2 separate regions of the Homo sapiens genome follow, and region 2 is linked to region 1. Evidence: promoter capture Hi-C in human tissues and cell types (Jung and others, 2019). All regions are on one chromosome and are shown on one strand. Each heading gives the region's core, a stretch centred on a gene start or on the middle of the fragment in contact. The rest is flanking DNA. Distances are from core to core; before and after follow the strand shown.

The links. Contacts are between HindIII fragments. The study calls those that stand out against the background at their distance.
Region 2: a fragment that was not itself captured here is called in contact with the fragment with the promoter of PHACTR1 in region 1 in 1 of the 25 tissues and cell types used here (mesenchymal stem cells).

Annotation. Positions count from the first base shown.
Region 1 is chr6:12,714,959-12,719,095 of GRCh38, reverse strand. It overlaps PHACTR1 (phosphatase and actin regulator 1), which reads right to left and starts at 2,329. Exons shown (of 15, transcript NM_030948.6): 1 at 2,200-2,329; 2 at 1,353-1,587; 3 at 249-397. The coding sequence starts at 351. All of the region lies in intron 1 of LOC107984015 (a long non-coding RNA gene), which reads left to right. The HindIII fragment of the contact is 3,467 bases long and covers 1-2,677 here.
Region 2 is chr6:13,063,063-13,067,199 of GRCh38, reverse strand. All of the region lies in intron 5 of PHACTR1 (phosphatase and actin regulator 1), which reads right to left. Among named protein-coding and RNA genes, the nearest start is that of TBC1D7, 260 kb to the left of the region's middle. The HindIII fragment of the contact is 3,368 bases long and covers 390-3,757 here.

The sequences.
Region 1 (4,137 bases), core at 1,080-3,579:
TAACATAGCTTTCTGAGGGGCACTTACACCAAAAGTTGGGCATTTTTTTAACCACATCCAAGAAGTGTGGATTTATTTATTCTATTATATACCTGCCTCAATTCCAGCAGCAGTTTGGTAGAGGTTATCAACTTAGAAATACCGGTTATTAAACTTTCAGAGCAAGGCTTTAACAGCTACAGCCTACATGGCTGTTCATATAAAACCGACGTGCAAATAAGAGGAATTTCTTTTTCTTATTTTATTACCTTGAGCTCCTTGACTGTAGAAGAATCTTTGAGCTGACTCAACATCCAAGAGTCTGTGAGCAGACTCTACATCCAGAAAATAATCCATTTTGGGATAATCCATCCTTGATGTTCCAAACACAGAGTTTTGAGAGAAAACACTGGAACACCTATAAAGAGGAAAAAAAAATCCACAATATTTTAGACGTCAAGTATAAAGTGTATATATAGATGTACTTTAAAATGTTTGAATAAGAATATCCCATTATAATATTCTACTACTTGATTGACATTTGCAATTCTAAAGCCACCCCCCAGCATAGCTTTCCTACCGTGTGAGAAAATGCCGCATTTAGCCAACATTCATTAAAAGTAATATATTCTACTCAGGAAAAACAGATGATCTGATCTAAAGAGAGATAACATACCAGCCTTTCCTTGCTTTATATTCTCTGGAACATATACTGTTAAATTCACATGCTATCAGTTTTCAAAAGGTCTATTTGATAAATAGCGTCATTAAGTGTCAGCCGTTGTGAGTGTTGATCCTCAGCTCATCCTGGGACTTTCGGATTCCCCTGGAGCAGGGAAAATTGCCTGGGAATCCGAGCCTCCACTCATAGATGCCGTGCGTTTATGACACACACTGACATATTTGCTGTACAAATGCTTTGAATTCCTTCCTTTCCGGCGATTCCCTTCAGCACATTTTATAAAGTGCTAGAGGATCGTCACCTGCCTGTGCCTGGCAGGGGCTGATTTTTGAGAAACAATTGTGGTTTGTAGAGCAGCAAGAATGATTGCAGCATTACAGTGATCCCTATATTATCATACACTAGCCTGTCACAAAGCTAATATACTTCCCCAGAAAACATTCAGCCTGTTGGGTTCTTTTTTCAAGCCTATGTAGCCTTTCCCTGATACTCACACAAATGAATTATCTCTATTTCTGCAGAATATTTTTTTGGAAAGAATTAACAAGACAAAGTCATTAAAACCAAGCTTGGAAGTCTAATCCAATTGGTTTCTCTTTCTAACAGTATGTATTTTAATTTAAGAAACCAAGTCCGGTAAGACAAAACTTTTAAAAATACCCAAAGGTACCCCAATAGCAAATATACTTACTGCAAAAAATAAAAATCAAAGGCTATCTGTCAGCGGTAAAACAAGAGCCGTTCCAGCCAGAGTGTCTTTGATCTTGCTAAATATTCCCGGTGAAAGTAAACGATTTTGATTGTTTGATTAGAACAGTGATGAATAATGCATACAGTCCACTGGACTTCCTTTATCAGATAAAATGGCCAGAGCACGTTACCTTAGCAACGGAAGGTGACGCCAGCCTCAGCCTCTGCACCCTCCCCTGCGAAGGGAGAAAATTACCAGTTTCCCGTGTAAAACTTTGGCAGAAAATCATCAAATCCACATGCATACATCATGCAGGGCTATTCCCCAGCCCCCTATCTCTTAGGCAGAGAAGTGCCATAGTCATTAAAAAAAAAACAAAACAGATTTATGTCTTCATTGTTTATTTTCATAATCCCAAATCTTAGTTTGATTTGCAGCTACAAAAGAATAGAATATGAAATGATTAAAAATTTAATATATAGAAAAGTTGTCTAGAAATTTTTGTGGGGGCACCAGTTATTACCCTAATGCTGGCCTAAGAGTGGCAGGGAATGGGGGAGTTTAGGGAAAGGCCATTTTAGCTTAACATACGTTAGACATTCCCCTGTTATAATTAATACACAGAACAGCCACCGGCATCTAGGCTGAAAATAACTCTTCCCTTCTGCAAATCAGTCACTGGAAGAAGCTTAAAAAGCTGTCTGAAATTTCCCAGATTCTGAAAGACATATTATAGCATAGATTTTGTGGGAGATCCCCACTCCCCCCACAACCCCCATCCCCGGCAAAGGAAAATTAGCCAAAAAGATATTTGAAAGGAAGAGTCTGGAAGTTAGCGGATACTCACCGGCACTTGTTGACCCCTTTCAACAGGACACGGTAGAGTACAAAACAAAGCAGTGCGACGCTTCTGAGCCCGCAAGCACAAATGAACAGCTTCTAATTTTCCCTTCAATCTCGCTTCAAGAGCACTGAGCAGAGGGAAGTGATGGATTTGCCCATTTATACTGTGATGAAATGCAACCCTTAAGAAGAGATCTGAGTGGAGCTGCTCTTTAGAACACATTAGACTGCTAATTTAAGAAAATTGAAAGGTTTTGTTTTACTGTCTTTTATGTGTTCTTCTCTGCTACCCCCTCAATTTAATTTGCATTTAAAATTATTCTCATGTCTCCTCAGCTCTCCAAGGTGTGGAGTACTTTCTAATCATGAAGGCTGCTCCAGTAGGGTTTGGTGCAACACCACTTTTATGCTGAGCTGCAAAACAAGGCAGGTAGTCATAATTGTGAGCTGTTTTCTGGAGCGAAATACAGAGGGCACGTTTGATGTCACCCCTTCCCTCTTGCCTGGCTTTCTTCCTTTCCTTGCTTCTGATTGCCTGGTCAAATATCCAGCGCAGATCATGCCAGTCTGCCTAAATGCATTTCTCTCTGTCTGAATGTAACAAAATAATACCAACAACAAAAATAAACTTTGGCTAGTATCTCAAGTTATTCTGGTTTAATATTCTTCCTACCAAACCTCAGTAATGACTTTTAGGCACAGTACTTTGAGATCTTCATGCAGGGCATAGTGATAGCCAAATGCAAGCCCTACTGTGGGTTTTCCACAACCTCTTGCACCCTTTGTTGACCAAGCAGAATTGCTCATTAGTATGGTGTGGTGTACAGTGGGTCAGCTTGTTAAGAAAAGAGCATTTACATTTGATAAGCCTCGGAAGGAAGACCATCAACACCACCCCTGTCCCCCCACTCCCTATACACAGCTCGGCTGGCTGCCCTTGAAACAAACCTGAAAATCCTCTGCTGTTTGTTTTGTGGGGTCTCCCTCTCCCACCCGATCAGAACAGATCAGACACCAAGCCGGTGCTGCAGACAGTTAAGCCTCATGAAAAAGGAAGCTGAAACTACCAATCATATGCCCTTGTAGGAAAGTCAACTATGGACTCTGAATTCTGAAAGCTTTGCTCCAACCCAAGGACTGACTTCTTTAAGGTTACTTTTCTATTCAGCACCCACTGGAGACATGCTGAACACTTGACATTTATAAGAGGAGAAAGCTGTCTTCTGGTTCCTTTTACTTACTGTGAGGTGTGGGCGACAGGTTCTGAACTCGTTATTGTAATTCTACTGAAATTGTAATGACTCATAGATGAGAGAAAGAGAGAGAGAGAGAGTATAAGTCTATGCTGCTGACCAAACCTTTAGGTGAGTGCAAATGAATGTGTGATTGAAGAAAGAGATGCTAAACTGGAAATGTGAAAAATAGAGTTGATTCCCAGGGGGTAGGTGGTGGATTTGGAAGTCAGTCATTTCTGGAGAGTTGACCAAGAAAGAGAAATTTAAAATACTTTACAAAGTGAACAAATAATATGAAAGGGTCGTAATTTAAGAAAACTCAGGAGGGAAAATTTCAACTTAAAGAAATGTATTTGGGGCCGGGCACAGAGGCTCATGTCTGTAATCCCAGCACTATGGGAAGTCAAGGTGGGTGGATCACCTGAGGTTAGGAGTTCAAGACCAGCCTGGCCAACATGGTGAAACCCCATCTCTACTAAAAATATAAAAAATTAGCCAGGCATGGTGTTGGGTACCTGTAATTCCAGCTACTTGGGAGGCTGAACAGGAGAATCGCTTGAACCTGGGAGGTGGAGGTTGCAGTGAGCTGAGATCATGCCATTGCACTCCAGCCTGGGTGACAGAGCAAGACTCTATCTCAAAAAAAAAAAAGAAAGAAACAAAGAAAGAAATGTATTTGGGAAGGGGATGATTATTCATTTGCAAAC
Region 2 (4,137 bases), core at 824-3,323, 350 kb before region 1:
CCATAAGGCAAGGAAAGGGTCAAGTATATTTCATACGACATAGTAATATGAGCAGAGCACAACAGAAGATTGCTCCTGCTGTTGTCATCAGTGTAACATTGTTGAAGCACATTCTACCTGGGAAGAAGGAAACAAGGAGCAGCTGTTGTCTTGCCACACTTTGAACAATGGTAGTAGCTGGCTTCCAAAGACAAGCCCCAATGAACCTTGTTCTGGCATCCACACCCTTGTTTAGTCCACCCAACAATGAATCTGGGCTGGTCCCATGGCTTGCTTTAACCATTAGAATAATGTGACTGTAATACTAAGCCAATGTTGTACCTAAGCCTTTAAAAGGCATGGAAGCATCTTATTTTGTGCTTTTAGGGGCCCTCAGCTCCCTGCTGGAGAGACCATAGGAAGAAACCCCATGGAAAAGCCCTGAGACAACATAAACAGGGAAAGGGGCCCAGCTTTCCTCGCACCTTAGGGAGCCTCCAGATGACTCCAATGCAATCCACCTGAAAATGCATGACAGACCCCAAGAGAGACCAGCAGAAGAACAATCTCACTGAGTCCAGTCAATCCCCAAGCCATAAGAGATAATACAGAGGTTGCTGTTTTTAAGCCATTATGTTTTAGGGGGTTTTGTAACACAGCAATAGATAACCCAAACAATAATGCTGTCCAAACAACCTGAGCTTTTAACACACGCAGTCATTTAGCCTAACCTGTGCACAACTATGAAAAACTGGAAAACAATCATGAATGATGGCAAATTCTTCAAACTCGGGGACCTTCCATCTTACGCATCCATAAGTACCCTACCTCCTCTCCTCTTTCAGATCTTAGTAAACAGAGAAGCTTAAAAATATATTAATATCTGGCTGGCTGTCTTACTGACTTTCAGTTCAACATGTACTTATCCGGTACCTATTCTGTGCCAGATGCTCTGCTCAACACTAGAAGACAAGAGGATATCAGCAGAGTCAATGCTATTAAGGATTTTATAGCCTGGACTTACACGCAGAGAGTGCTGGATAAAGTTCACTTTGAGAAGAAACAATTACATCTTTTATCCAGCCCTAGAAGGTAACAGATTTCCATAGTCTTTAGTCTGTACCTGTTAGAGATTTTTTAAAAACAAAACAGGACCATTAAGTCTGCTTTGCTTTCTAACCACTAGATGGTCCCTTTGTGGGTCATGATGAATACACAACTAAAAATATTCCCTGCTTACCTATGCTGGATCTTTTTTTTTTTTTTTTAAAGAAGAAATGAAATGCTCCAATCATTCACCCAAAGGGAATATGTGATCTGGCCAGATGCTGAAGGCTATTCAACTTGGTTTGATAGTTTCTTATTAAAATCAGATGCTAACTAGTGCTCTGATTATTTGCATGTTTGCTTTTCCTAGTCACGAGAATTGTCATTGCTGAAAAATGTGTGCAAATATATTTATTTGGCTTAACAGTCACTTTGCTGATGTTTCAATTTCCCTGAGAATGCCACAGCCATGTTAAGGCAAATTTTGCAGCTTGACACAATCTAACCAATCTTAAAAAACATCCCCCTCAAGCTCACATCCCCTTTTGTTGTTTGCTATATATTTCTCATTTTCCCTCTCAACCAAACATCTTAAAAGAAGATGACTACCTCCTCTCCTCTCATTTACTCCTCAACCACATGCTATCTAAATCCCAGCTACGTGGCTTCCCTAAAGTCATAATCCCAAAGGACACCAATGATGAGTTGTCTATGCCCACCGGACACCATCTTGTCAAGATCTGCCAGGGTGGACTCTTCTTTCTGAAACTCTCTCCTCTGGTTCACCGAGACCACCAGTCCCTCCTGGTTTTCCTCCAAACTCCAGTGGGCCATCTGTCTTCTCTGTAGGCTCTGCTGCCTCTGTTCAGAACTCACAGGCTGGTGGCCCTCAGGGTGTTACTGTACCCTCGACTTTGCTTCACACTTTACTTTCTCTCTTTGGAGTTTTCATCCCAGGGCTTCCATGATCATCCAGGTGCTGATGACTTCCAATCTGCATTTCTTAGACCTCTCCTGACCCCAGTTATCTATACCCAAGGAGCCCTCCATCTGAATGTCTCAGAAGCACATGAAAGCTGGCATGGCCCCAAATAAATTCATCTTTTCCCCTCACAAATCTGCTCCTCTTCAGTGTATCTGACTTAGTCAATGGTACAATGTGGAGGAAAAGTTAAATATTAAATTTGAACTCAATTGAACATGGACACAAACAATGGTCACCAAGTCCCGGAACAGATGAGTTGAGGCGTTCATCCAGCACTGTTTTGGAGAAATCTGTATTTCAATCTATTCCTATATATTAGTTATTGAAAAACAATAGACAATCACAAAAATCAAGTTGACTTTTTGCGTTCCTTGAGCCCAGTCGCAAAGGGCCTTTGTGACTGGGCCTCATGCCAAACAACTTGTTACAAAAAGACCTAGGGTCCCAGACCACGCTGAAGCTTCATGAGACGTCTCCTCATCTGTGCAGAGACAAGCGGCTGACTCTGGAGCCCAGGCTGTTGCTTCCCGGTCTGGTGGTGAATCCTCCATAGTCTGGCAAGTGTGGATAGATAGATATATAGATATATATATATATATATATATATATATATATATATATATATATATATATATATATATCTTTTCCCTTCTCCCCTTCCCGTTGCAATTTATTATATTAATTTGCTTATTATACCATTTGCTTATTATATCATTTGCTTATTATATCTGCATTGCCATTTACGTGGGATAAAGCTTGTTTACCCTTAAAGATATTGTGTGTGTGTCTTTTCTTCTCCCCTCGTGCATCTCCTGCACAGAACATACCTCCATCCATTTAATTGCTCAGTGAGAAATCCAAGAGTGGTTTTTTATTCTTCTCCCCACTTCCACATCCAATCTGTAATCAAGTCTTGCTCGTTCTGTCTCCTAAATATCTCTTGGATCTGTTCACAGTCTTCAGTTCCTAATGTCACTATTTTAGTCTAGGCTATCTCCCTCTCTCCCCAACATTATAATCAACCACCTGCTAACCAGTCTTCTTGTTACCAGAATCAATAAGGACACAATATTCCATTTGATGTGATAGGAATGAGGTATCATCTTAATTCTATCACAAGTAAATTTTCTCTCATTACCAACACAATATTTATAGAAGTTGTTATATTATAAACTTGTAAACACCACTTGGTGCCACTCCAAGCTTTTCCCATAATATAGAGAATAATCTTTCTAAAATGCAAGTCCTCTCATAATTTCCTATTGCATTAGGATAACACCCAGACTCCTTAACATACCTCATAAGACCCTTCATGAGCAGATTCTTGTCCATGTCTTCAGCCTCATCTCTCACTACTCTCTGTCCCTTCCCCCAACAATCCTTTTCAAGTCATAATTTTTTTTTTTTTTCAGACAGGGTCTCACTCCATTGCCCAGGCTGGAGTACAGTAGTGCAAACATGACTCACTGCAGCCTTGATCTCCTGGGCTCATGTGATCCTCCCACCTTAGCCTCCCCAGCAGCTGGGACTACAGGCATGCGCCATCACACTCAGCTAATTTTTAATTTTTTTTTTTTTGTGGTAATGGGCTCTTTCTGTGTTGCCAAGGCTGGTCTCAAACTCCTGGGCTCAAGTAATTCTCCCGCTTTGGCCTCCCAAAGTGCTGGGATTACAGGCATGAGTCACCGTGACTGGACATAATTTCTTTTTAAGCTGTAGACTGTTAACCTCTCCTCTCTTCCCTGGCTCTCCTACATTCTGTTCTGCCCACCAGGAGAGATTTCCTCACATGCATTGCTAACCCCTTGGTTAAACATCCCTTTCTCTAGCAAACCTTTCCCAGTAACTTGCCACTCAGTTGGGCTTGTCTCCTTCAAGCTCTCAAAGCCCCTGTGCATCTCTTATCACTTCACTTCTGCTTTATTGTAATTGCTGGCTTTATTGTCTGTTTTCCCTTTAAGACATAACCTTTGGGAGGTAGGGGCCATGTCCGTCCTCACTGTTGCAATGGTATGGACTTCTTATGAACAATGGCAGCATCTGGCACATAAATACATTCAATATGGTAAGCTGGTATCCTTTATGAATTTCCTATAGTTTATAGAAGTCCAACAGCCTAGATTCTG